3 separate regions of the Homo sapiens genome follow, and regions 1 and 3 are each linked to region 2. Evidence: promoter capture Hi-C in 16 types of primary human blood cells and fetal thymus (Javierre and others, 2016). All regions are on one chromosome and are shown on one strand. The core of a region is centred on a gene start or on the middle of the fragment in contact, and the rest is flanking DNA. Distances in the headings are between cores, read along the strand shown.

Region 1 (4,213 bases), core at 105-2,604, 170 kb before region 2:
AAAGATTTTTTTCCCCCTGCATGGACTTTAAAAACATTTTTTAAAAAGGGAAATCTGCATGTGAAAACAAAGCCTTTAAAGTGATTTACTATTCCAGAAAATCAAGCTAAGAGAATTCCATAAAAGTAGTCGTTTTCCTTTTTGTTCCTTTACTGATAAAAATAAAGTGAACTGGTTACTTTTAAGTAAAGAGTTAGACAAGAAAGAAAATGTTCCACTTAGAAAGAATGAGGTGGGTATTTTTCTTTGCATCAAAAGCTACAGTAACTTCATCTATAAATCCTGAGCAAGAAATGTCCAGAATAACCACATTTCATAAGCTTTGCTGAGTTTGAGACATCTACATAGCAACAGCCTTGCGATGGGAAAACATTAATGCTTTTTATATTGGTAATCATCTGTAACATGAGCAATTAAGTACAGTACTAATGGACTATGGCCAGGAGCCTGGTACTAATATTAAAAACTGACAGAGATGAATAGATTTGGAAGCAAAACCCGGCTGACAAAGACATTTTTATGAAGTGCTTGGACCTATTTGATTTAAACCAATCAGAGGCAAGTTTGTACGAGTCAGGCCTTCAGTGACAATGATGTATTCACAAGCATTGTACCATTTCTGCTTTGCCTTAAATAAAAACACCCATTGATTCTTTTCAACAACCCACACTTTCATTATTGCACTCATTAATAAACCAAAAGTGCTCAACTAATATACAAGTAACATTTTACTGAGGAACTGGCTACATTTTTCTTGTTGTAAAATGAAAACGTTTACTGGAAACATGAACCACAGTGCATGAAAAATAAATCAGTGGATAATGCATAGAGATCACTCACTTCTTCATCTTCTAGGAAAGCAAAGCTGGTGGCAGGGAAATAGGAAAAAGAGCAGTTCTCTTTATCGGAGTGAAAAGAATGAGAACAGAAGAACCCGCAGCCTAGTAGGAAGAGCTCTCATCATCCTGATTTGGTTTGGAAGGCTTTACAAAATTCCAAGGGCATTTCCAGACTAGATATTTGCCCACAAAGTCCTGACCATTCTCAACTCATTGACCCTTCTTGAAAACAGTGTTCCTTCACCAATCCAGTCATCTCTGTTTTATCTGTTCATGCAACCTGTGACTAGCAAGAATGAATGAAATCCACCATAATCATGAAGTTTTAGCCCAGAGCTTCAGTCTCTTCTTGGATATATGTGCATGTCCTCTGCCCTTCTTTGGTAGAACCAATTAAAAGGAAGACATCTAGAACGGTAATCCTAGCTTTTTCTCCCCACCACAACACATAGGATTATGGGTGATTCCTCTTGGAGAATGATTGATTGAACATTGAGAGAGGCACTGTTGTAAATAAAATCAATGATCTTCAAATTTTGGTAGTTAGCGGTTGCATCTGATCACAAGGATGTGAGAGGAGTCTAGATGGCAAAAAGGAAATACCAAGGAAAGGTAAAGGACCTTGCTAATCACCCTGGGACAGCTATGCTCCAACAACACAGTTGGAGGCTCCACACTGCCAATTTTTGGTGTTGCCACACATAAAATGGGCTCTGCATATGGGGTTCCCACTTGGCGGATGGCCTATTGTCTTTCAACTCCAAATCCACCCTTCTGTACTCTGCTTGCTGATGCTAGGACTGGAATTCTGTAAATTACACATCCCTTTTGTCAGCTATCTTCCTGTTACTATTCTGCAAACAGTGTGTCCTGGGAGGCAGGGAGAGAAAAGGAATCTCCTTTCCATTTCACTTGTTCACATAAGTGTCAACTCCACAATGCATTAACAGCAGCAGTGGGTTGCAGCCTCTAGTTTCAACAGTCCCCCAGCAGTTTCAGCGCGTGTCCTCTGAGGTCTGGCAGCAGCCAGGGAGCACCGCCTCCTCAGGTTTCAGCCCAGCTCTGCAGTGCTCCACCTCTGAGCTCCCGAAGCATCAGTGCTGGTTGGGTGACTCCTTCTTACCAGGGACCTGAACCCCAGCTCTGAGGCACATTCTCCAAACTTCTGGGTGGTGACAACCAACCTCTCTTCTCTGTTCTGTCACCCTAGGGAACTTACAGTTGTTGCCCCCGTGTTAACTTAGTGCCTCACACCAACCCCTGTTTAAGCAACTGCCTATGGTGAAGTCTCTTTGTTGAATACCCAGTGTGGTTTCCATTTTCCTTACTGCACCCTGACTCATACACTGACCAAATTCTGGATTTGGAAAAGTGACACCACTCTTCAAAAAGTTTAATCGAGTGAGAAAGCAAACCTTTATGGAATATCCAATCTGGTCCCAAGAATAGGGAGAGAAGAGAAAAATTTTAAGACATCTTTAATCATGTTTCTTAATTGCTAAAGTTTGTGGTATATCTACTAAAATTTTCTAATGTGATTGAAAGCTTTCAGGAATCTCCTGAAAGAAGTAAATAATCAAAAGTACACAATCTTCAGAAGAATCCTACTTTTATTCACAGACCTGCTCAATCACACACACACACACTACTATGGGTTGAGTCCTTCTCTCCATGCCAAACCTTCTCTCTTTTTTTTTTTTTTACCATGTGATACTTTGTAATTAATTTGATTGATGTTTTCATTCTTTAACTAGATGAGCTAACAGCTGAGATACACTCCTTTTTCAAGCTTTAATTGCTATCTGCTCCTTTATGTTTGATGGTTCAGGTGTTGAGGGCATTTGCATATAAAGGACAGGGATGTCCACTCTCAAAACAGAATCTATTTGAAAACAGGGACAGAGTTTCTAGTAAAAATGTTCTGGCTGGGTGTGGTGGCTCACGCCTGTAATCCCAGCACTTTGGGAGGCCGAAGTGGGTGGATCATGAGGTCAAGAGATCGAGACCATCCTGGCCAACATGGTGAAACCCCGTCTCTACTAAAAATACAAAAATTAGCTGGGCGTGGTAGCACGTGCCTGTAGTCCCAGTTACTTGGGAGACTGAGTCAGGAGAATCGCTTGAACCTGGGAGGCAGAGGTTGCAGTGGGCCGAGATCATGCCACTGCACTGTAGCCTGGTGACAGAGGAAGACTCCGTCTCAAAAAAAAAAAAAAAAAAAAAAAAGTTCTGAATGAAGCCTTGACTCATAAGTCAAAAACAAGTAGCCTGTGGTTCCTTAGACATTATTTTCGGAACACTCACCTGAGATATCAGTGCTACTTTGTACTAGGACATCAGTGGTGTACCTTATACATACAGTGAGAATGGGTGAGTTTTTGTATTAAACACTGACAGAAATAACATATTTTAAAAATTGATGTGTTGTATTGAAAAACAATGCTATAAAGAGTAATAATTTGAACATCTATTATCAATTTTTAAAAATCCTTCTGAATTACAACCCTGCCAAGTAAGGCAATCCTTTGGGAATACTTTGTAGCAATTTTTCATGGTGTACTAAACCCAATTCAATTTATTATTACAAAAACATTCTTGTTGAACGGCCATACTAAAGCTGAGTTAAATGCAATACAGATAAAAGTAAAATTGAACTTGGAAAAAAAGGACTAAGAATTGATGAGTTAAATGGTATTGCCTGAGGATGTACGTATAAGACCCAAAGGGAAATGCCAGTTATAAGGAAGTTGGTAATGACCTAAACAAATTAAGTATGGGCTTGAAGCATAGAGGGATAATGCATTAATCTGCTAACTGGTCTTTAACGGTGTGAATAATGGAGTCCTAATGCAAACGGGAAATCCACTCCTGTGGATGCAACATAGTAGGCTAATTTTGCATTACTTCTTGTTTGCATCCTCATCATCTTTCTGAAATAGGCTGAAATTGTTAGAAAACCAAGCCACACAGAGCTTGGTAAGAAGATTCCGTAGAAGAAAAATACCAGGATGAAATAAAACAACAGATTTGATCTGGGGCCATTTCTCTTACTATGAGAAATCCTTACTTTTCAATGCTAATATTATGAGAAGTGCTTACTTTTCAATGTCAACCTCAGAGTAGCATTGCAGATTTTTCAGAAGCTAAAGGTTCTCATGTTAAGAGAGCCTAAAGAGAACATCCTGAGTAATCTATGCTTGTGGGGAAAAAAAAAAAAGGCATTGTCAGGCAGGTGGTCACATGACAGAACCAAACTAAAAGAACATCTAATTTTAGCCCCTGTAACAAGAGAAAGCCATGTTCCCTAAAAATCACAAGGCGGTATGCAAAGTAAAATGCCAGAGGGAAATTTTCAGTTTCCCAAAAGGTCATTT
Region 2 (4,133 bases), core at 639-3,138:
AAAGTCTGTTTGATTACCCTGCTCTCGCTTTGGCAACACAAAGCCTCGCCAGGCGGCAGTGCGCCCTCCCTCCCCGCTGCGCCGTGGGCACAGACTCCCCAAAATAGTTCCCCTCGGTAGGTACCACGGCGCTGAGGTCGGTCAGCTGAGGAGGGGAGCCCGCAGAACTGCGGTCACACATGAAATGACAGAGCCGAAGGGAGGCGGCCGCCCCGGCGCCCAGTGACAGCGGGCTCACCTCCGGCGTCCTCCCGGGAGCGCGGCGAGCGCCCCCGCGGCCGCCCAGAAACGTGCCGGGGAGGCTCTGTCCCCTCCCCGCCCTCCCCGGGAGCGCCGTCTGGGCACGGAGAACGCTGGACCCGCAGGGCCAGTGGGCGAGCACACACCCCTCTGCCCTCCCCTCCCCCGCCCCCGTCCCACACACCCCCAAAGATCGCGCAGGAGGACGTCCACTTTGCGTGGAGTAATTGCAAACTAGAACATCAAATGGCTTGTCCGGGGGGAGGGGGAGTGGGCGAGAGATAGTTGTTAATGCTTAACGTGTTTGTGCCTGTTACACCACCGCTTTGAAATCCGCCCGGGCAGATCTGCAAGTTATTTGAATGTATTATTCCAGTACCTGTCATTTATCACTTTATTCAACACGTCTTTGCCAACTCAATAGCTTTTGATCTCATTCTGCCTCCATTTCGTAATTTCCGCCCTCTTAAACATATCAAATACTTACTTTGAAAAAAGAACAATATCGAAACCCACCGAAAGAAATCCACCCAGACACGACCGAGCCAGACACGAAGGTAAATTTTCAAAAGGCAAAAAATATAAAAAGCATGTGATGTTCAAGAGGCAATAGCAGGAGAGCAAATGAACACACACACACACATACACACACACACACACACACACACACACATCCTTGAACAAAACCCTTCTCGAACAAGTTATTTGATCTTGACTAAAATCAGCAGTTGGATCCTCTTTGTAAAGCTGACAGCCAAACTCTGACAATGGCAAAATACTCGAGCCCCAGCTAGTGGCGCTACCCCTTTAAAAAAGGAGTCGATCCTGCTTGCCTGCAGAAGTGAATACAGTATTTTCAAGCTTGCCCTGTAATAAGCATTACTAGGGGGAAAAATAATAAAGAAAGAAGAGGGGGACAGACAGGTTTACCACCTCGCCATGGTCGCTATTTCTGCCCTGGGGAGTGTCTTCTGGGAGGAAATAAAGTTTAGAGCTGGATAAAAGTTGCCGGCTGGTCCTCTCTTCCCACAACAGCTGGAGCTCCGCTATGCAAATCGGATCCTTTGGCGTACATCTTACAAAGAAAAAGTCGCCAAGGGACAAAATTCTTGGTTTGCCTTCAAGGTGGAATTGAAAAGCCTTGTAGAAAATGTAAGGTCCGTGCAAGCCACACGGTGAGCCGACCCACTGCAGGGGGGGAAAAAAACACCAAATAAATAATGTAGCCATCAGAGCACAAACATCTATTCCCAGACACATTTACACACAGACATCCACTCTCTTAATACAGACGACCCAACAGATATAACGCTGGGTGGAAAAATAATAGCACCCACAAATTTTCTGCTTCCCTAAAAAAAAAAAAAAAAAAACTCAGGGCCCCCCACCGCCACTTCTACCCACCTCCCCATTTGAGGCGGTAAAATTACATTATGTATGTATGATCAGTGCAGGGATTTTTTTAAACAATAAAAATGATTTTGGGGGATGCAGAGGGTAAAAGTTTGGTGAAAAGTTTGTGGGGGGTGTGGGTGGGTGCAGAGGTGTGGGTGAGCTGGGGGGTTGGGGGGTGCCGGGGGGTGCCGGGATCGGAGGAGCGGAGGAGAGCGAAATACCTGGAGTGAGTTGGGCTCCATCTCGACGTTCTGAATTGATTGAACTCAACATTCTCTCCAAACTTGTTGGCTTGAATGGATTGCATCAGGTCCTGGCAGGGAAACGCATTCTCTGCCTTCAGCCGGCGTAATGTCTCAATATAAAACTGAGCTCTTGCCTCCCTTCGGGCACCGAAATGATTGAAAATATGTCCTAATATTTCTATAACGACTCAATTTTCAGCTCCTGAAAAAACTATGTGGGTTTTCTTCCAAAGATGGATTGATCAAATTCATAATCGAGAGAAAGGCGCCATACGATCTCGGCGGGAAGAGGATGGATCAAGGCAAAAAACACACAAGAAGATTTGTAAAAATAAAAAGCACCCTAAAACTGTGTGGAGATGTGATTCCTCTCTCTCTAACCGCTCCTGTCTGGGATATCGTCTGATGAGATTTTTGGAGGAGAGGAGGGGTAGCGAGCTCCACTGTGCATCTGACAGGACCTGCTTGTATATGTCTAATATAAAGAACATTTCCTGCAGAGATTCCGGGGCGCTGCTCCTCTTTCTAATGCTTCTTAGCAGATTTGCTGTTATTAGACATGTAGATTTGTTTGATAGTTAAATTACGCTTCCTCACTGCCATGTTTTCGAGAACTAATCTGTTAAATTATCTTTTGATGCCTATTTACATGGAAGGGAAAAGTGGGTTATCGATTATATAAACATATAAATATTAATGCATTTGTTCGCTTCGCAAAAAAATACTCAGCAAAAAAAAAAGAGACAAGTGAGCAGTGCACACACATCTTAGGATTTCGCAAACAATATTGAACGGACAGCGACTGCATTTAGGGACTGGAACAATAAACGATGCATGATAAATCAATAAATGCGAGAAGCGAGTCTGCTCAGAATATGAATTCAGGCTCCCGGTTCTGCGTGTGCATTCTTTAATTTTGAAGTATATACACTAGTACGTGTTTACAATGCTGATGGACGCCAAGGGCGCTCTCAAATGATAATGTGTTTATATAACCCAGCGCTACAGGAATAATATACCGACTCCTACCCCACCCCCATCCCCTCCCCCGCCAAAAAAGGGAGGGGAGCTTCCTCAATAATAGTTTGAAACTGAAAAAATCCATTTGCAAACTAGTTAAATACAACCAGAAATTAAGCTGTTGAAAACCGGGGGCATGAACCGTAAGACAATAAAGGCTTTAAATGTGTATATTTATTGTTCTGGAGCCCTGGAGCATTGCGAGGTTTGCATGCACGGCTATTATGCAAACACAGAGAAACTTAAGAGCGACAGAACAAGGAACAGGCAGAGACTGCAAAGCCCTCGCAAGCTCCGACCCAGCTGCCGGTCCTCCGCCAGGCTAGATTGCATTTTCGCAGTGTTGATTTAAAATGGTGTACTCGCTTCCCCCACGTTCCCCCACCCCCTTCCCCGCTCTCCTCCCACTCCTTCCAGCACACCCCCCCTCCAGCTTTTATTATATTGGCACCAATCTTTCCAAAGTGGGTCTGGCATGCTAAAAAAGTAAACATGTACTATATGGGGAATAAGGTCTGTATAGTATGACAGTTGAAACTTGATCTGTGATAAAATTACAGGATGTTGAAATTACTAGTAAGCTATTTTTAACGCTTTCGCAACGTTTCACCTCTAGTCACAGCATCTAGTTGAAACAGGATTACTTTAATGAAAATTATATTCACATGGCTGAAGTTAATACACCCGGCAGAGCACAAATGCCTCATATTCAGTGACTTGAGGTGGAAAGACCCTCTGTGTGTATTTTTATGCCTTTTCATAACGTCTGCGTCCGCTGCAGTAAGAATTAGGGCACTTAACATTATCTAAACCACATTTTTGATTCAGAATATGGGGAAGTAATAAAAGGCAAAATCTATCTCGTTTCTATACACACAGAGATAAACGAAAGAAAATGGCAGATCCTCTAATTACAATAAATAATAAAAGCCCATGCCAAAGAGCCGGTATTCTGAAAGCTGTCGAAAACTATTTTAATAATTTAAAGTAATATCACAACTCTGCACCATGGAGGACTACAATTCGCAGTCTCCCATCTTTAACATTAGCCAAATTATGACTTGCACATCACTCTTTAATTATCTCTTGAAATTTCATCTGATCTTTCTATTTTATAAACATGGGTTACAAAGAGAAATTATAGCTCTCCTGCGCTTTCTCTCTCTCTTTTTAACTTTATAATGCATACTGCAGACGTTTGATTAGAATCGCCCATTTTGTTCATTTTTAACA
Region 3 (4,294 bases), core at 814-3,313, 210 kb before region 2:
AGTGGCATTTAAGAGTTTCAAGTGCTCGGTTTCATCAGGAATGACTTGATTCCCTGGCAAGAGCTTTCACATTAACAGTGATATTGGTAATGCTTACTAGATCAGACCATGTGCTAAGTACAGGTTGAGTATCCCATATCTGAAATGTTTGGGACCAGAAATGTTTCAGATTTTGGAATATTTACATTACATATACGTTCTGATTCTGCATCCCAAATCCAAAGAATTCGAAATCTGAAATACTTCAACGAGCATTTCCTTTGAGTATCATGTCAGTGTTCAAAAGGTTTCGGAGTTTGGAGTATTTTGGATTTTAGGTTTTTTGATTAGAGACATTCAACCTGTAGTTATTGAGCATTATTTCATTTAGTCCTTACAATGTGTAGGGGAGATAGTATAATATCTACTTTCAAGATGAGAAATCTGAAGCTCAGAGAGGTTAGTTAACCCACTCAAGTTTACACAGCTAGGAGGCAACAATGTTGGGGATAACCAAGATTCTCTCCTTAACCAAACTTTAATCAGGCTCCTCTGAGTCATCTTTTTGATGAGGCCTCACCCTGAAGGCTTTGTCCTTGGCCTATTTAGTCCAGTTTTAGTAAGAATCCTGTTGGGTCAGTTTAGCAAATATCCCCCACCCTTGATATCTGATGAAATTCCTCATCCCCATCTCTGGATATTTTTTCACCCTGGCCTTCCTTCAGCAAGAAGCTTGTCAAGTAGGTTTAGCCAGAATCTGCCTTACCCCTTGTTTACCCTTATAAAATGTTTACTGTTAGTAATTTTCCATCCACTGACCCTACCCTGCCCCTTGGCTATAAATCTCTACTTTTCATTGTTGTATTCAGAGTTGAGGCCAATCTCTCCCCCCTGGCAAAATTCCATTGTAGTAGTCTCCCTTGAATAGTCTGGCTTACTGTCTTTAACAAATGTCATGAATATATATATATATATATATATTTTTTTGAGATGGAGTCTCGCTCTGTCGCCCAGGCTGGAGTGCAGTGGCGCAATCTCGGCTCACTGCAACCTCCACCTCCCAGGTTCCCGCCATTCTCCTGCCTCAGCCTGCCGAGTAGCTGGGACTACAGGCGACCGCCACCACGCCCGGCTAATTTTTTGTATTTTTAGTAGAGATGGGGTTTCACCGTGTTAGCCAGGATGGTCTCGATCTCCTGACCTCATGATCTGCCCGCCTCGACCTCCCAAAGTGCTGGGATTACAGGTGTGAGCCACTGCGCCTGGCCAATATTTTTTTTTTAATAGGGATTGAAACCTGGGTCTGTCTGACTTTGTGGACACTGTCACACTCACCAGTATTTTTGAAAAAAGAGTTCTAAAAATTTTGGACTTGAATCTCCAGTAAACTACAGATATCCTTTAAAACAAACACATTTCATACATGAAGGTGCACAGCATAATTGGTTAAAAGAAGTTACTGTGGTATCAGACTACCTAGCTCCAAGTCCCAGCTCTGCAACTCACAAGCTGGGCAAATCACTTACTTGGCAGTGCCTCTGTTCCTTCGTCTGTAAAATGGGGAAAATATCAGTATGTACCTCATAAAGTTGTCATGAAAATTAAATGAGTTCATACATGTGAGCACTTTGAACAATGTCTAAGTACCAGCAAGCACTGTTACGTATACACTATTATTGTTATGCACGCAATATATCATATTCATTGTAAAGAAAACCCTATCCCCACTTAAAAAAATCAAAAAGATGAGATAAAAAGTAGATTAAACAGAAATGCATTATATTCTGCCTGTCTTCCTGGACTGGCTTGCACAGCTCCTGGCTTCCTTATTTTCTCCTTTGGCCACTGTGGGGATTGACTGTACCCACTTTGAATATTCCAATGGGCCATGTAGACCCATAGTGTGAGCCCATTAAGATCATAGACTGGGGATATTGTTCAGGAACCAAGAGGCTCAAAGAAACAAGTTTGCACTGAGAATGAGTCTGAGTACCCAAAGATCAGGCCGGAGTCCTGCCAGGAGAGGGGCAAGGCTGGCACTTCATTTCAGCTAAGCACAAAGTTTACATCGCATTGAGGACTTTCCCTGACCCATCTCTTTTCAAGTAGCTCCCTCATTCCCAGTCAGTCTATTCCATCACTTAGTTGTATTTTCTTCTTCACTGCTTCTCTGAAATTGTCCAATTTCTTTGTTTGTGTGTTTATTTTCTGTCTCCTTCATCAAGATATAGGATGCCATCTATTTCTTTCATAGTAGTATTTCCGGTGGTTAAACCAGTTCCTGGTACAGGGTTGGTGCTCCATAGATATTTATAGGATTAATGAGAAATTTAACCTTCTCTTATCGCCCCAGGGACTGCAAGAAGCTAATAAATAGAAGTTAAGGAACTTGAGAGCTTACCTAGGTAGCTCCTCCCCTATTGCCCGCCCCCTTCCTCATACTCCCAATTGATAAATGAGAAAATTGAAATTTGGAGGTTAGGAGACCATCCAAGAACATACACAGAGCAGGACCGAGGGCTCCTGACTCTTTATTTGACATCCAGGGGCTACATTGTGATGCCTTTTCTTTGCGGGAGGGAATAGGAGAATGCAGAAATTTTCTTTGTGTCTAAAATAGATTAGAAGGTGTAAAATCCAGGCCCTATCTTCTATCCACTGTGAGTCAGAACAAACTGTGTCTGCCTTCCATGGTTTTGAAATAATTTTGATCTAGGAAAGAAGGAAAAAGGAAAAAAGGAAGGGAGGGAGGAAAAGCAGAAAAAGGAACAAGGAAGACGAGAAGGGAAATGTTAATGAGGATATTTCTTTCCTTTTTGGTGTTGGGAATTCTCTGGAGGGTTTCCAGCCCTGGGCTAAAGGATACCTTCTTCTCTCATTCTTCTGGGCCACAGTTGCATTCGGCCTGAGGTTTCTATGGGAGACTAGATTTCAGGTCTATTTAAAGAGACAAGATGATTTGCCTACTACACCTTTTTGTTGAAATTTCTCAATCTTTTCCCATACTCTACTTCTTCTGAATTACATTTTGCCTCCTCTTGCTTTATTTGTATTCCAGCTAAGCCTCACTTCCTCAATGTCCTTCCACATTCTCAACAAAGTTGTATCAGATATTTATTGAGCTGGAACTTATTATATACAGTTACTTTCACTTCCCCTTTCTATGGATACTGCAGACATCTGTTTGAGTAGCTTTATTAGCCCTATTTTTTTACTTATGGAGACAAGGACCCAGAAAAGTTAAGTGATAACTTACCCTGGTATATAAGTCACAGTACTAGAATTTGAAGCCAAATCATGCAATTCCAAAGCCCATGCACTTTCTGTTATATCAGAGCCACTTCCTCTTAACACCATGTTAACCATTTAATAGCAGATTTGGCTGCAAATGACAGAACATCCCATTAATAGCACCTTAAACAAATGGGAAGCTTATTTTTCTCACATAATGAAACATGTAGATGAGCATCATCAGGCCTAGTGTAGTGGCCCAGGGATGTCAGGGGAGACTCAGCTTTGCTCTGTTCCACTGTGCCCTCCTTAGCATGTTACTTTCACCCTCAGACATGTTGCCACTGGTTGTAAGATGGCGACTCCACCTGCAGCCTCATGGCCACATTCCCAAAAGAAGAAAAACAGGGAAGGAGCAAAAGGCCAAAAGAACATGCCAGTTGGATTTGTCCTTTTTAAAGGTCTTTTTTAGGAGTCTCACAGATACTTCTGCTTTTATTTCTTTGCCCAAATGGTGTTGTGGGGGAGCCCCTTGCTGTATGGATAAAGAAGAGATGAGTTGGAGATTGGGTCAGCCAACCAACAACACCTGCTTCATCTTACTTGGCTGAAATTCTTTACCTCTTTACTTTCACATGGCTGCCTAATTGTTTTCTGAGACTCTTCAGAAGCATCCAGCAGTTCTGTAAGTGTAGAAACTGGTTTTACCATCTCTTGCACCCTGCCTGAGGCTAAGCTGGCCTCAAGGAATGACCAGTAAAGATTGACTGGAAAGAACTTCCCAAGAAGGCCATGGGAGAGGAAGAGCTTAGGAGATGGGTGACAGATGGGAGAAAACTCAGCCAGGATCATAGGACACATTCCTGGGGTCCTGCAGGTCCTGGAGTCATGCAGCTGAAGGCTGCTGCATGGTTAGGCCCCTGGGACATGCAGGGTTCATAAGAAGGTAGGAGGGATATAAGCCATCTCAGTCTGCCCAACTAAGCAGAGGGGAGGAAAAGCATGAGGTGAGCCTGTATCTGTTTTTGCCATCTCACTCCACTTTATCTATAGAGAGGAAATGCTTGCACAAATCATAATGACA

The links. The method cuts DNA at HindIII sites, captures the fragments that hold promoters and counts their contacts. A CHiCAGO score of 5 or more calls a contact.
Region 1: a fragment that was not itself captured here is called in contact with the fragment with the promoter of ARID5B in region 2 in 3 of 17 cell types (activated CD4 T cells, non-activated CD4 T cells and naive CD4 T cells); the score reaches 8.2 in activated CD4 T cells.
Region 3: a fragment that was not itself captured here is called in contact with the fragment with the promoter of ARID5B in region 2 in 1 of 17 cell types (total B cells); the score reaches 6.2 in total B cells.

The regions. Positions count from the first base shown.
Region 1 is chr10:62,069,883-62,074,095 of GRCh38, reverse strand. The region is part of intron 8 of ARID5B (AT-rich interaction domain 5B); the gene reads right to left. Among named protein-coding and RNA genes, the nearest start is that of ARID5B, 170 kb to the right of the region's middle. RefSeq lists an enhancer at 1,980-2,119. The HindIII fragment of the contact is 2,064 bases long and covers 323-2,386 here.
Region 2 is chr10:61,899,454-61,903,586 of GRCh38, reverse strand. It overlaps ARID5B (AT-rich interaction domain 5B), which reads right to left and starts at 1,888. Exons shown (of 10, transcript NM_032199.3): 1 at 1,857-1,888; 2 at 1,174-1,428. The coding sequence starts at 1,877. RefSeq lists silencers at 137-456, 3,197-3,366 and an enhancer at 1,696-2,198. The HindIII fragment of the contact is 3,094 bases long and covers 1,104-4,133 here.
Region 3 is chr10:62,108,897-62,113,190 of GRCh38, reverse strand. No RefSeq gene overlaps it. Among named protein-coding and RNA genes, the nearest start is that of LINC02621, 150 kb to the left of the region's middle. RefSeq lists enhancers at 3,290-3,359, 3,390-3,439. The HindIII fragment of the contact is 2,699 bases long and covers 714-3,412 here.